Linked DNA regions of Homo sapiens: regions 1 and 2 are each linked to region 3. Evidence: promoter capture Hi-C in 16 types of primary human blood cells and fetal thymus (Javierre and others, 2016). All regions are on one chromosome and are shown on one strand. Each heading gives the region's core, a stretch centred on a gene start or on the middle of the fragment in contact. The rest is flanking DNA. Distances are from core to core; before and after follow the strand shown. Region 1 overlaps TMEM131 (transmembrane protein 131). Region 2 overlaps LOC124905591 (a long non-coding RNA gene). Region 3 holds the start of VWA3B (von Willebrand factor A domain containing 3B).

Region 1 (4,516 bases), core at 1,915-4,414, 110 kb after region 3:
ATTACAGCAGTTAACTCCTGTTATTGCTTGAGACTGTCATTACTGCAGTTACTACTGGAGACCATCATTACAAGACTGAACGAAGGGACGAACATAGAAATGAAAAAAGACAAAAGAAACTGTTTTAAGGAAAGGCAACATGGGGAGAAGAGGAGAGCTCCCTGCTTCTAGTGATCAAAGGCAGCCCCCTTGAGCTTCTACAGTCCTTTCGTATTTATTGGGTAAAGAGCAAGGAGGAGGAGGTAACCATTGGTCAGCTGCTTAATTGATCACAGGTTCATGTTGTTACTGACAGGCTTCAGTTATGCCTAATCATGAGAAACATTTGTGCAGCCTCCATCTCCTTTTTGTTTTTAAATTAATTGAGCAAGACAATTGCAGATTATGCAGCCCTTAGTGGCGCCTAGACAGGAACTTGAAGGGACTATCAGGGACAAAAAGGGACCTGAAGAGAACTGAAGAGACCCGAAGAGACCTGAAAAACTAGTTCAGGCCATGATGGGAAGAGGGGGTCGGACATGTCTCATTATACCCTCCTCCCTTTGGAATTCAGGCACCACTTGTAGCTGACTGTCACTGCTACTACTTGAGACTGTCACTACAGCAGTTTCTACTGTTACTGTCTGAGACCGTCATTATGAGACTGAACGAAGGCACAAACGTAGAAATGATAACAAAAAACAAAAGTAATTTTTAAGGAAAGGCTAGCATGGGGAAGAAGAAGAGAGAAGAAAAGAATGAAAGGGCTCCCTGCTTCTAGTGAGCAAAGGCAACCCCTGAGCTTCTACAGCCCTTTTGTATTTATTGGGTAACAAGAGCATGGAGGAGGAGGTAACGATTGGTTGGCTGCTTAATTGATCACAGGTTCATATTATTACTAACAGGCTTCAGTTGTACCTAATTACAAGAAACATTTGTGTGGCCTCCAACAAGGGTGTTGGGGCTGTGCTCTTTCTGTAGGCTTCAGGGGAGAATCTTTTTCTGTCTTTTTTAGCTTCTAGAGGCTTCCTGAATTCCTTGGTTCATGGCCTCTGACATCACCCTTTTCCTAATCCAAACATCTTGCATATCACATTCTGTTCCTCTGAGTGTGATTATTAATATATTTGGCCCATCTGACTAATCTGGGATAATCTCCCCATCTCAAAATCCTTAATTTAATCACATCTACAAAATTCCTTTTGCCATGTAAGGTAACATTCACAGCTTCCTGGGATTAGGACATGGACATTTTGGGGAGTCATTATTCAGCCTACCACAGACATTGAGTTTCTAATGAGCTTTCTTGATAGATGTGACACCAAAAGCACAAACAACAAAAGGGGAGAAAATAGATAAAGTAGACATCAAAATTTGAAAGTTTTGTGCTTTAAAAAGCCCTATAAAGAAAGCAGAAAACCCACAGAATGGAAGAAAAATTTTCGCAAATCATGTATCTGATAAAGGGATATGTATCTAGAATGTATAAAGAACTCATAACCTCAGTTACAACAGACAGTGCAATTAAAAAATGGGCAGGGGATCTGAATAGGCATTTCTCCTAATAAAGATATATAATAAACGTATGAAAAGATGCTCTACATCATTAGCTATCAGAGAAATACAAATGAAAACCAAAATGAGATTCCATTTCACACCCACCAATATGGCTACGATCAAACAGATGGATAATAAATGTTGGCAAGGGTGCGGAGACATTGGAATGTCTTGTTGCTTTATGGGTAACATAAGATGGTGCAGCTGCTTTGGAAAACAGTTTGGTAGGTCCTGAAAATACGGAGTTACTGTATGACCCACAGTTATGCTCCTTAGTATATACTCCAAAGAAACGAAAACACAAAAACTTGCACATAAAAACTTGTGCAGGAACATTCATAGCAGCATTATTTATAGTAGCCAAAAAGTGGAAACAACTGAAATGTTTGAAGAATAGATCAAATGGAATATTATTCAGCCATAGAAATGAGTGAAGTATTATTATGAATGCTTGTTACAACACAGGTGAACCTTGAAAACATTGTGATAAGTGAACAAAGCCACTCACAAAAGACCATATAAGACCATAGAAGCCATTTATATGAAATGTCCAGAATAGGCAAATCCACAGAGACAAAATAGATAACATGGTTGTCTAGAACTATGGAGAGCAGTGTAGGGAGTGACTGATGATGGGTACAAGGGTTTTTCTTTGGGATGGTGGTTGAACAACTCTGAATACACTGAAAACTATGCATTATATACTTAAAATGGGAGCTGTTATTAAACAAGTTTTATTAAAAATTGATAGGCTTTTCATCTAAGGGGGAAAAAACCTAAATGAGATACCATTTCTCACTTATTTGGGTGGCAAAGTTCTAAAAGCTTCACAACACTTTCGATGAGACTGCAGGAAAGCACGTGTTCTCACACCTTGTTAGTTGGAATGCAAAAAAGATACAACCTTAATGGAAAGAAGTTTGGCACAGTGTCTAACAAAATTACATATATGTTACGGTTTTCACCTAGCAATCTCATTTTTAGGAATTGGCTGTTTTAACAATACAAATACATATATATAAGGTTATTCATAGCATGATGATTTGTGAATGAAAACTATTGGAAATGACCTAAATGCCCCTATATAGTTGAATAAATTGTTACATCCACATAATGGATCATTATGCACCTTAAAAAAGAATGAGGAAAACCTCTAGAATATGCTTTTTAGTGATTTCCAAAGTATATTGATAAATGAAAGCAGCAAGGTTATAAAGAGTGTATGTGTGTGGATAGCTACCTTAACAGATTTTTAAACTTTTTTTTTTTTTTTTTTTTTTTTTTTTTTTTTTTTTTTGGTGTGTAGTTCTGTGAGTTTCAGCACATGTATAGATTTGAATAACCACTACCATAGTCAGGATACAGAACATTTTCATTACCCTCCAAAACCTGTGCTATCTCCATATAGTCCACTTCTGACTCTTGTCAACCACTGATCTGTTATGTGTCACTGTAATTTTCTCTTTTTGAGAATGTCATATAAATGAAATTAGTGTGTATAATTTGAGATTGTATGGTTTTAAGACTGGTTTATTTTACTCAGCACAAGACACTTGAGATTCTTCCAACTTGTGTGTCTTGATAGTTAGTCTCTAATGTTGAGTAGTATTCTGTTGTATGAATATACCATGATTTATTTGTTCATCTGTTGAAATTTTGGGTTGTTTGCAGTTTGGGGCTGTTATAAATAAAGCCGCTTTGAACATTCATGTGTAAGTCTTTGTATGCACATGTATTTTATTTTCTCTCAGGTAAGTACATATGAGTGGAATGTCTGGATCCTATGGTAGCTGTATGTTTAAGAAACTGCTAACCTGTTTTCCAAAGCGGCTGTACCATTTTATATTCCCATAAGAAGTGTATGAGAGTTCCATTTCCTCCATATGCTTGCCAGTGCTTGGTATGGTCAGTCCTTTAATTTTAGCCATCTTAACAGGTGTGTAGTGGTACAGGCATTTCTCATTTTATTGCACTTTGCCTCCTTCACAGCCAATATGCTGTTTACAAATGGAAGGTTTGTGGCAATCCTGCCTGACACAAATCTATTAGCACCATTTTTCCAATAGCATATGCTCACTTCTATTTTTATGTCACATTTTGGTAAGTCTCACAATATTTCAGGCTTTTTCAGTATTAAATCTGTAATGGTAATCTGCAATCAGTGATCTTTGATGTGATTGTGTAATTGTTTTGGGATGCCCACAAACCACACCCATATGACACTGCAGGCTTAACTGATAAATGCCTGTGTTCTGACTGCTCCAACTGGCTGTTCCCCCACTTCTCGCCCCTCCTCAGGCTGTCGTTTTCTCTGAGACAACAATATTGAAATTAGGACAATTAGTAGTACTAAATAGCATCTAAGTGTTCAAGTGAAAGGAAGAGTCACACCTCTCCCTTATAAATCAAAAGCTAGATATGATTAAGCTTAGCGAGGAGAGCATGTCAAAGCTGAGAAAGGCCAAAAGCTAGGCCTCTCGTACCAAACAGCCAAGTTGTGAATGCAAAGGAGAAGTTCTTTAAGGAAGTTAAAAGTGCTACTCTGGTGAACAAATGAATGATAAGAAAGCAAAACAGCCTTATTGCTGATAGGAGTAAGCTTTAGTGTTCAGGATAGAAGATCAGACCAGCCACAAGCATTCTATTAGGTCAGAGTTTAATCCAGAGCAAGGCCCCTCTCTTCTCTTCAGTTCTATGAAGACTGAGAGAGGGGAAGAAGCTGCAGAAGAACAGTTGGCAGCCAGGAGAGGTTGGTTCATGAGGCTTAAGGAAAGAAGACAGTTTCATCACATAAAGTGCAAGGTGAAGTGGTTAAGTGCCGATGTACAAGTTGCAGCAAGTTTTCCAGAAGATCTGGCTAAGATCATTGATAAACGTGGCCACGCTAAACAACAGATTTTCCATGTAGATGAAACAGCCTTCTTTTGGAAGATGCCATCTTGGTCTCTCATAGCTAGAGAGGAGAAGTCAGTGCCTAGCG
Region 2 (4,574 bases), core at 2,007-4,506, 88 kb after region 3:
AAAGTGTTGGGATTATAGGCGTGAGCCACTGCACCCAGCCTATCAGATTTAAAATACTAAATTTAACTTGTTAAAGTACCAGAAATTAAAGTAATAACATTTAAAGGAAGTAGAATTTACCTTCTGGAAAACACTGCACAGGTACGTGTGTGCGCTAGCTGTGATGCCTGCCCTCAGACCACCCTGCAGAGGCCATGCAAAATGGCCAATTCTCGATTCTTCATTTAGGGAACTCACACCAGACTTGGCAGAGAGAATTGTGTCTCTCCTACCTTATATTTGTCTCTGCAATTGTCATTATTTTACTGTTTTAATTTTTTCATTGTTTCTGGTATTTATCTGCATCTTGAATATGTTGATCTTTGCCTTTACTTACTATTGCTGGGAATTTTACAGTTACAAGCAATTAAATAATAGGGAGAGGGAGAAACACAAACATCCCTCAATACATTGTTCAATGGCCTTTTTTTCCCCTGAATGGCTTTCCATGGCTGTTAGTTTCCACCAAGCAATGCAATATTAAGTACAGTTGAATGACGGGTGAGGCAGGCTTCTTTAATAATGGTGTTTAGGAACATTCAGAAACTCAGGGCAGCCTAAAAATCAACTTTAAAGTACTCATCAGTACTAGAGAGGACAATGGTAAGGGGAGGTGGAAGGAACAAGAAAAATACTAGGGTATTATTTCCCTCCTTTTAATTGAAAGACTACCAAACCACATGACATTTTTCAAAAGTCACAAGATTAATAATTAAATGTTGCAGGAGAGAAAAAATCAGAGTGGCGCTGGAGCCTATTGTGGAGGAGTTGAAAGGGCAGGCCAAGATTTTGATTCATGTTAAACTTGGCTGTTTGTCCCAAAAAACATTTCTAAAGAATGCCAGAAAAATAAATATAAGCTTATAAACTGTGTCAGTCAGCTTGGAAGGAAAATATTGAACAAACCCATCATTAATTCTCACATCTAAATCCAGTATGTTTATTAGTAAAGGTATGTATGTGTTGTGGTAGTGGTCATTGATGAGATCTTAGTTCATGTAGATTTAGAAATTGCAAAGGAATCTAGTTTTCCTGAGGAATATATGAATAAGGATCTTCAAATATGGGATCCACACTGATACAGAGCTCGGCCCACATGCTCAGAAGCTACTACCCTCATCCTGCTGCATGAACTTGACTGAGGTCTATTTGCCCTACCCTAGGTTACCATAATTTACTACTAAGTTGAACAGACTTAAACCTTAGGCTTCGTGAGCTGACTTTTTTTAAGAATAACACCCAGGGAAACCTCCCAAGGAATAAGGGACACAGGAGACAAAATAAGCAGGTTACTCTTCATCCTGAATAAGACAGACAAGATGCCATATTCCTTCTTACTCGCTTGACTGCTGTGGGCTTCAGACTAGATGAAAGAGACAGAGAACTGAAAATAAAGAAAAATCAGTTAAAGAACTTGAAAAGGCTGGGTAAATAAAGAAATGAGTAGAACCCAGAGTTGCCTTCATTTAATACTCCTCCTCTTTCCTCCTTTGATTCATTTCTTCCTATTCTACCATATTTTGTATATGTCTCTTATTTACCAGATTTGAAGCTCCCTGGAGGAGAAGGACTATGTCTTCGTGATCTTTATCTTTTAGTTCTGTTCATTCATCCATTCATCTATCCATTCATGTAATAAGTGTTATTGAGTGCCCAATATGTGCCAATATTGTAGAAGCTCGGAATTCATCAGTGAGCAAAACGAATGGGGGGAAAGATTGGTAATAACAATACATTTAATGAGTAAGTAAAGTATATAGTATTATAGAAAGTGATAAGTGTTATGGGGGGAAAATGAGTGCAAGGTAAGGAGGATTGGGTCTTGAGGGTAGGTGTAATAAGCTGCAGTATTAACAGTGGTGATCAGGGTATGCTTCGCCAAGAAAATCATAACTGAGCCAAGACTGAGAGGAAGTATGACAGTGAGCCCAGCAGAGAACCAGGGAGAAGGGGGTGGGGAGAAAGCACTTCAGGTGGAGGGCTAGAGGATAGACCCTGGAGTAGAAGCATTCCTGATATGTTCCAGGAACAAAATGGTGGTCATTTCAGCTGAAACAGACCGAGCCTGGAGGAATCCAGGAGGAATGGAAAGACCGGGGCAAGCCAGATCAAGGAAGCTTTTACCCTGAGATGGGTATTCAAATATTCCCTGTTATTGCTTTTTTTAATATACAGTCTCTAAAAATTAAAATTTCACTTTCCCCAACTGCTTTTAAAAACATTAAGCAGGCCACTGCAGGATGTGAACATTGAGAGACGTGACATGTCTTATGTTTTAAATGGATCATGCTGGCTGTCAGGTTGACAATAGACTATAAAAGTACAAATTTATGTCAAAATATAAAGCAAAGCCCAACAAAACTCAAAAAAAAAAAAAAAATCAAAGATGAGTTTATATACTGCCAGGGGTGGATGTAAACACACCAGTGAAAAAGTTCACTGAGTAACTCATGAATTAGGAAAAGTCAGGGTTTTTTAAGTGTGAGAAAGAGAGAAGGGAGTTTGGAGGTTATGCGGATTAAGGGCTGGAAAGTAGTGCTCTGGATAGGTTGGAATAGTGTTGATAAAACATGTCCCTTTGTTAACTGGTCAGAAAGGAGTCTTTGGTTAGGTCTAACAAGGGTCTGGTATGGGGTCACTCAAAGTTCACAGTCCTTGATCTGCTTCAGTTGGTTAGAACCAGTTGTGGTAGAGCATAGCATTCCGTTTTGATATCTACTATGCAAGTGTTGTAAGTGGAAAATTTTCTTTTACAGGTGGAAACAGGGAAACCTGTTAGGAAGCTCTTGCAGAAATCCAGGCAGCGGATGACAGGGCTCATACCAGAGTGGAGTAGTGCAGGTGGTGAGAAGCAGTTAGATTTGGGTACATGTGGAGAGAGTAAAGAATGACTCCCAGGTTTTTGGCCTGTGCAACTGGATGGTTGGAGTTGCCCTGGAGATAGGAAAGGCTGTGGGTGAAGCATGTTTGCATGGGAAGATGTGGAGTTCATGTGAGTTTAAGACACCTCATTATACACCTGAGTGGGAACAGCAATAGAGACAGCGAGGTCTGGCTGGTGACATGAAGTGGGGACCTGAAAGTGTATAGATGGTGTTGAACGGCAGGATACCAGGTGCATTCACCTATGCAGCAAAGGAGATAGAACCCTGGAAAGCCCAACAGTTTACTCCCTCCTAGTTCCAGTTTTAATTCATAGAAGGCATTCTTGCACACCTCCTTAAGTATTTTGTGGAATGAAGTGGAGGTATCAATGGATCAAGGATCTTCGTGCCTAATGTGGTGTTTTGAAAAGAGTGAGTGCTCACTAATAGCTACTTTTGACAGTCTCCTATGTCCCAGACACTAGTCTATATGCTTCACAAACCTATATGCTTAATCTCCCCAAATTTATATCATAATCCCCATTTTTACAGATTAGGAATCTGAGGCCAGAAAAGTCATTTGCTCAGCATCATATAGCTAGTAAAGGCAGGGATGGGATTTAAGTTCAAATTTGTCTGAGTCTCTTATAATTCTGCCTTGAATGGTAAATTACTAACCTGCATAGAGAGCAAAATGAACAGAAAGTGAGGAGTCCCAACAGCTTGTAGCTCCTGGCATATATCACTGTGCAACAGTCTTCAATCTTGAGCCTGTATCAGAATCACTTGGATGCCTTGTTTAAACAGATTGTTGGACCTCAACCCAGAATTCCTGATTCCACAGGTCTGGGATTTGGCCTGCTAATTTGCACTTCTAACAGGTTCCCAGGTGTTGCTGCTACAGCTGGTCTGGGGATGACACCTTGAGAACCACTGGTTTAGCGAGTTTTCCCTGACTCTGCCAGCTAATACCTCCACCTGCCAAATGGCCAGGTCTCTCCAATTTCCAAAAGGGAAAAAGAGAAAAGTTCACAACTAATCAGAACTATTTGAGAGTCCTTAGTGTGATGGTTCCTTCAATTTTAACTCCTGGTTCTCTCCTGAGACACATGAGGGTTGGGGAGTGGGGGTAGAGGATCATAGGGTGATGGTGGCTCCACGCCAGGTTCTCTCTAACACACAGTTTACCATGCTGTCTAGCAAAACGTCTTTCACTGTTAGACTCTCAGTGGCCTCATTGTCCTTTCCTGGGAGGAAAGTTCCATCATCACCCCTCCTGCTCCTAGTGTCCCTCAGGCACAGGGGAGGGTTCAGGTATGGTGGGCCTTAAAAGCCTACCCAACTATTGGGAGGGCTCCTTTAAGAACAAGAATACAGGCTTATAAATACACAATTAGGTTCAGGGACTTGGAAGGAACTTGTGCAAGAGAGGGGGCCCTGCGGCTTAAGCTTCATTAGCTGCATGGGAAATCGAACTCTGATCAAACATGTCTGTATACGTCTAAAGATCCAATTACAGACAGGTGCAAGTTATTTCCCATGGAGCTGCTGAGCCTCAGGCTAACCAGGGGATGTGGCTGATTGCTGTGTAAGAGAACCTCAGCACTTCATGGTTGGAAAGGCTTGTTTGTCCTGAATCTGGCCATGGGGGAAGGGCTGCTGACTTGCAGA
Region 3 (4,657 bases), core at 1,592-4,091:
AGATTTTGTAAAGTGGATTTGGGAACCTTAAAGAGGGGTTCAGAATAGTCACAGGTGTTGTTTTTAAGCTAAAGGGACATGTTTTTGATCCCCAAAAAAGGCAATCAAAACTTCTCCAGTATAGCTAAGGTGCACGCCCCAGTCCCTTTTGCACTCATATGACTTTTAAAAAATTAATTTTTAAAAAAAGTGTAATTGGCTCTACTGGATCTGAGAACCTGTACAGTCCAGTCTGATTCAGATCTTACCTCCAGCGTTTTGTAGCCTGAGAATATTTGTATTGTCTGAAATACAAATGGAATATTTGTATTGTCTGAAATACAAATGGAATATTTGTATTGTCTGGAAAAAAAAAAAGGAAGGAAAGGGGGAAAGGGAGAAAAGCCATCTCCCAACAGAAGGAATTGTTCCACTCAAGTGGGATAGGAACTGTTCTATCAGAGCAAGGAAGCCTGCTGCGAGCCGGGACGTAGCCCCCTTCTCCCCACCCCACCCCCACTAGCCCGCCTGCTTTCCCACCTCCAGGTTGGTCTCAGACGGCTCTCCTATGCAGACTCTTAGCCTGCAAGTCTCATTTCAAATGCTGCCTCTGCCATTAAGCCTCCCCGAAACCCCTTCACAACCTTCCGCAGCCCCTCCCTGGGAAAACCCTAACTTTTGCTATGATACTTTATCACTAAGGTCTTAGGCACTTCAGGCTTGTCCTCACTAGACTTAAAGACAGTTCAATGACTACGGAGACAAACTACAGGAAGATTCTCAGCACAGGGCCTCATACGCAGCAGGCACTTGGTGTGAGAGTTGAGATGAATAAAACTGATCACTCAGAGCTACTAAGAGAATCCTGATTTTGTTCAAAGAAGGCAAATATCCACAGTGTTAATAAGGCTAATATCAGGAAACAGCTCTTTTAAAAAAGGGATATATTGGCCGGGCACGGTGGCTCACTCCTGTAATGCCCCCTTAAAGTGCCAAAGTGCTCTCTTGGCACTTTGGGAGGCCAAGGCGGGCGGATCACCTGAGGTCAGGAGCTTGAGACCAGCCTGGCCAACATGGTGAAACCTCGTCTCTACTAAAAATACAAAAATTAGCCGGGCATGGTAACACACACGTGTAATCCCAGCTACTAGGGAGGCTGAGGCAGGAGAATTGCTTGAACCCAGGGGGCAGAGGTTGCAGTAAGCCAAGATTGCACCACTGCACTCCAGCCTGGGGGACAGAGCGAGACCCTGTCTCAAAAAAAAATAAAGGGGGATATATTATTTTCTGATAAAACTATGCTATTTATTTATTTATTTACTATTATTCAGAGTTTCCTCAGCTGAGGTTATTATAAATTGGGGAACCAAGTAACCCAGAAGTCGGAAACAACAACATACCGGAGTTGAGCATTGCCCTAAGTTTTAGAGGCCATCCCAAGAACCATACATAGAGTTTGGATAGGAAAGTATTTCCTTAGAAGAAGGAGGAAGTGTAAAAGGAAAAACAAGGAAGTGAAAGTCTGAGCTGAAAATGTGGGCAGGCAAAGCTTTGGGGAAAATAGAAAGGTTAAGCTGGCAACTGTACAAGGGCCCCGTCTACTGGAAGCAGATGCTCCTGGGCTGCCCTGGGCGACAGTCTTGTGAAGTCAGCATGCCCTCAGAGAAAAGGTCCTATGTGCTCGGAGGTTCAGGGACAGTGCAGGGTTGAGAGTCCATTAATCCAGTTTAGACATTCAATAAGCTTCTAGCTACTTTATTATCAACACCCCAAACTTCCTATACCCCTGTTAGTTTCTGAAAAAGAAGTCTGGGCTAGGTGGATATATATCTTGTGATTTAGGTGAATTTGTGAACGATGATTTTTCCAGGAAGAAAGGAAACTGGGACGAAGCTTCATGATGGATCCTGATGCAACTCTTCCCCAGAAACCCTTAAACCTCCTCCCATTTTTTCTGCCCTTAAGGGACAAGGCTTGGCTGTGATCATTGGCTCAAATAATGTGGACAGAGACAAGGATATTGAAACGGACTGTCCCACCGTTGAGAAAATAGTCAAGAAGGCAATATCTGAGAATAATTGGAGTGCTTTAGGAGGAAGGTCATTGCTGAGAAGAAACAGAGCTTCCAAGAAAATGAAAGGAAAAGCTCTACCAAATGGAAACTAAATCTACTTATTAAGTCTTATTTCCATATAAGGAGGGTGAAAGAAACTGATATGATTGTGAAACCATGTAAGTGTTGCTTTGGCTTTTAGACTATACATATTTATCCTTATGTTCAGGAAATGTGTTTCTTCTGGTTCCCATGTTCCCTCCAAAGCCCAGGTGGACTTCATCACCTTGAACTGCTGGCCTATGGCATAGACAGAAACTAGGAAAACCGCTTTTCCACCAGAGCGGCTGGGCGTGGGCTCGGGTGAGGTGTGATGGAAAGAGCTCTAGAGTAGGAGGGGTCGGTACCTTGACCCTCGGCTTGCCCTGGGTAGCGGACGATTAAGTGGGCCAGGGCAAGTCACCGAGCTTTCCTGGTACTGTTTCCGCATCTGTAAAGTGGGCGTGTAGTCCACCTCAGAAATGGCATTTTTCCAAGACCTCCCTAGGCCGCTTGTTGGAAGGCTCGGCACCTCGGCGGCTCTCGTGCGGCAGGCATCGCTCCCACACTTACTAGGCAATATGTCGGGTGGAAGACGTGGCGGCTCCCGCTCAGCAGCCACCCTCCCATCCTCCCGGGCCCGCCTGACCCGAGAGGGCGGGCGAGGTAAGCATCCCGCTGGTGGATAAGGCAGCGATTCCGGCGGGCGAAGGCTGCGCGCCGGGGGCGAAGGATTCCAGCTGTTCTAGGTCTCTGTGACCCGCGCCTCTGGTTCCGAGCGCGGTCTGTTGACGACGGCGTCTCCGCGGTTGCCTGGACACGGCCAATCACAGCGCGGCTCCTGGAGCCGGCCCCGCCCACAGACCGCGCCCTCACTGGGGCGATGGCTGCGGACCGTGGCCAAGAGGGCGGGGCGCCGAGGCCGTCACCGAGCCAGGTGCGGAAAGCCGGCGTCCGGAACCACCCGGGCCGGGACGACCTCCACCCCAGACCCCCAAACAGAGGCCACGCTAGAGGGACAGGGCGAGTGGCGTTGCCCCTTGCGCCTACTGTCAATGGGAAAATTAACAACAGCGGAGAATATGAATGAAAGAATGAATGAATTAACAAACAAATACACTGATGAGCTGGGGTAGAAATATAGGGTGCGAGCAGACAGGGGAGGAAGGCGCCAGAGGCCGAGGAGAGGCGAGGAGACTGCGGGAAACGCTACAAACGAACTTCTTTTCATACTTTTCAGCAGAGCATTGACCCCTGTGTAGTTTTAATTTTCACCTCACCACTGTCAGGCGATGCTCTCTTCCTTGCACAGTTCAGAGAAAGACGCTTTAAAAGAGGTGGGGCAGTTCGTTGTAGCTCAGCCACTGGACGTGGGCGGAGCTGAGACAGACAGAAGGGACAGGGAGCTGCAATTTTGCAATTGTGGAGGCAGGGGCTGCAGTTGCCAAGAATATTCTTACCTGTTTGACATGAATATTTCTATAGGCATTATTTTCTCCATTCAGCTTTGTTTTTAACCTTTGTTTCAGTGTTACCTTATCAATTAAGCAAAAGGCTCTAAATATTTTCCTATTTTTCCAGTCACCAGGAAATAAAATTGTGCTTATGAAAAGTATCTTTAAAGTCTTAATAAAAGACCCCACAGTAAGTATTGTTTTTAGGGTATTGGGATAGTAAACGATTTTAGATTTTAAAATTATAGAACTGACCAGATCATTTGCAGGTTTTTCAAAGAACTAATAAAACATAGTTAATGTTAGAACTGAGTAATTCTGTCCCCCCAAAAAAAGTCTGCTTCATCCACAGGAATTTATTTCTCCTGCATTCTTTTAATGCCTCTATCATTTAAAAAGTACTGAAAGATTTCATTCCATATCACAAATCATTCCTGGCAGTTATTAGTTTATATATATTTGGCCCTGCAAATGAAACCTGCCATCCACACCACCAAAAAACAAGCAAAAGCTTGATAGTACTGAAGACTGTTCAGAAGGGAGTAAAACACCAGCCTCGCCCATGTTTGCCAATGACCCATTAATCCTTGCTGTCCACACCCTGCCACACTAATATTCTTGGGTCACGGGGGTGAGACAGAGCACACAGCAACACATAGCCAAATGCCCTGCCTCACATGGTCACGCCAGGCACTCTTGTTCCCACCTTCACCCCATGCCTGCTCCTTTCCCTAGGACACTTGCCACATACGTGCAAGTCACCAAGATGATCTGTCCCTATCTTTCGTGTTTATGTGTCTATAAGCATACATTCTGTTGAAAATGTGAAACATTACTTACTTAAATTGTAGAATGATAAGTGAGTAGAAGTTTAAGGTTATTTTGAAGCATTAAATAGTTGGTATGGACTTCAGTTTAGCTAGTTACAGAATGGTTTGCCTCATTTTTATTGAGTTATTTGAAATAAGAAAACCTTTAGCACAGTGGTGATACACTACTATACTGAACTTTTGACAAATTTGTTTTGAGTTTACATTTTTACAGATAATTTGTATCTTTCCTTAAACCTCAGTAAGCGACATTGATCAAATCACTGCCATCTTTGATGTCAAACTTCTGGACTTTACCATTA

What was found. Contacts are between HindIII fragments. The CHiCAGO score rates a contact against its expected background, and 5 or more counts as called.
Region 1: a fragment that was not itself captured here is called in contact with the fragment with the promoter of VWA3B in region 3 in 2 of 17 cell types (monocytes and naive B cells); the score reaches 8.0 in monocytes.
Region 2: a contact is called between a fragment that was not itself captured here and the fragment with the promoter of VWA3B in region 3, in 4 of 17 cell types (monocytes, naive B cells, total B cells and 1 more). The highest score is 10.1, in monocytes.

Annotation. Positions count from the first base shown.
Region 1 is chr2:97,979,346-97,983,861 of GRCh38, reverse strand. The region is part of intron 1 of TMEM131 (transmembrane protein 131); the gene reads left to right. Among named protein-coding and RNA genes, the nearest start is that of TMEM131, 14 kb to the left of the region's middle. The HindIII fragment of the contact is 1,602 bases long and covers 2,364-3,965 here.
Region 2 is chr2:97,997,902-98,002,475 of GRCh38, reverse strand. It overlaps LOC124905591 (a long non-coding RNA gene), which reads right to left. Exons shown (of 2, transcript XR_007087148.1): 1 at 3,582-4,574; 2 at 535-1,423. Among named protein-coding and RNA genes, the nearest start is that of TMEM131, 4.2 kb to the right of the region's middle. The HindIII fragment of the contact is 2,196 bases long and covers 2,159-4,354 here.
Region 3 is chr2:98,085,351-98,090,007 of GRCh38, reverse strand. It overlaps VWA3B (von Willebrand factor A domain containing 3B), which reads right to left and starts at 2,841. Exons shown (of 28, transcript NM_144992.5): 1 at 2,645-2,841. RefSeq lists enhancers at 2,112-2,612, 2,647-2,716, 2,613-3,113. The HindIII fragment of the contact is 2,164 bases long and covers 1,875-4,038 here.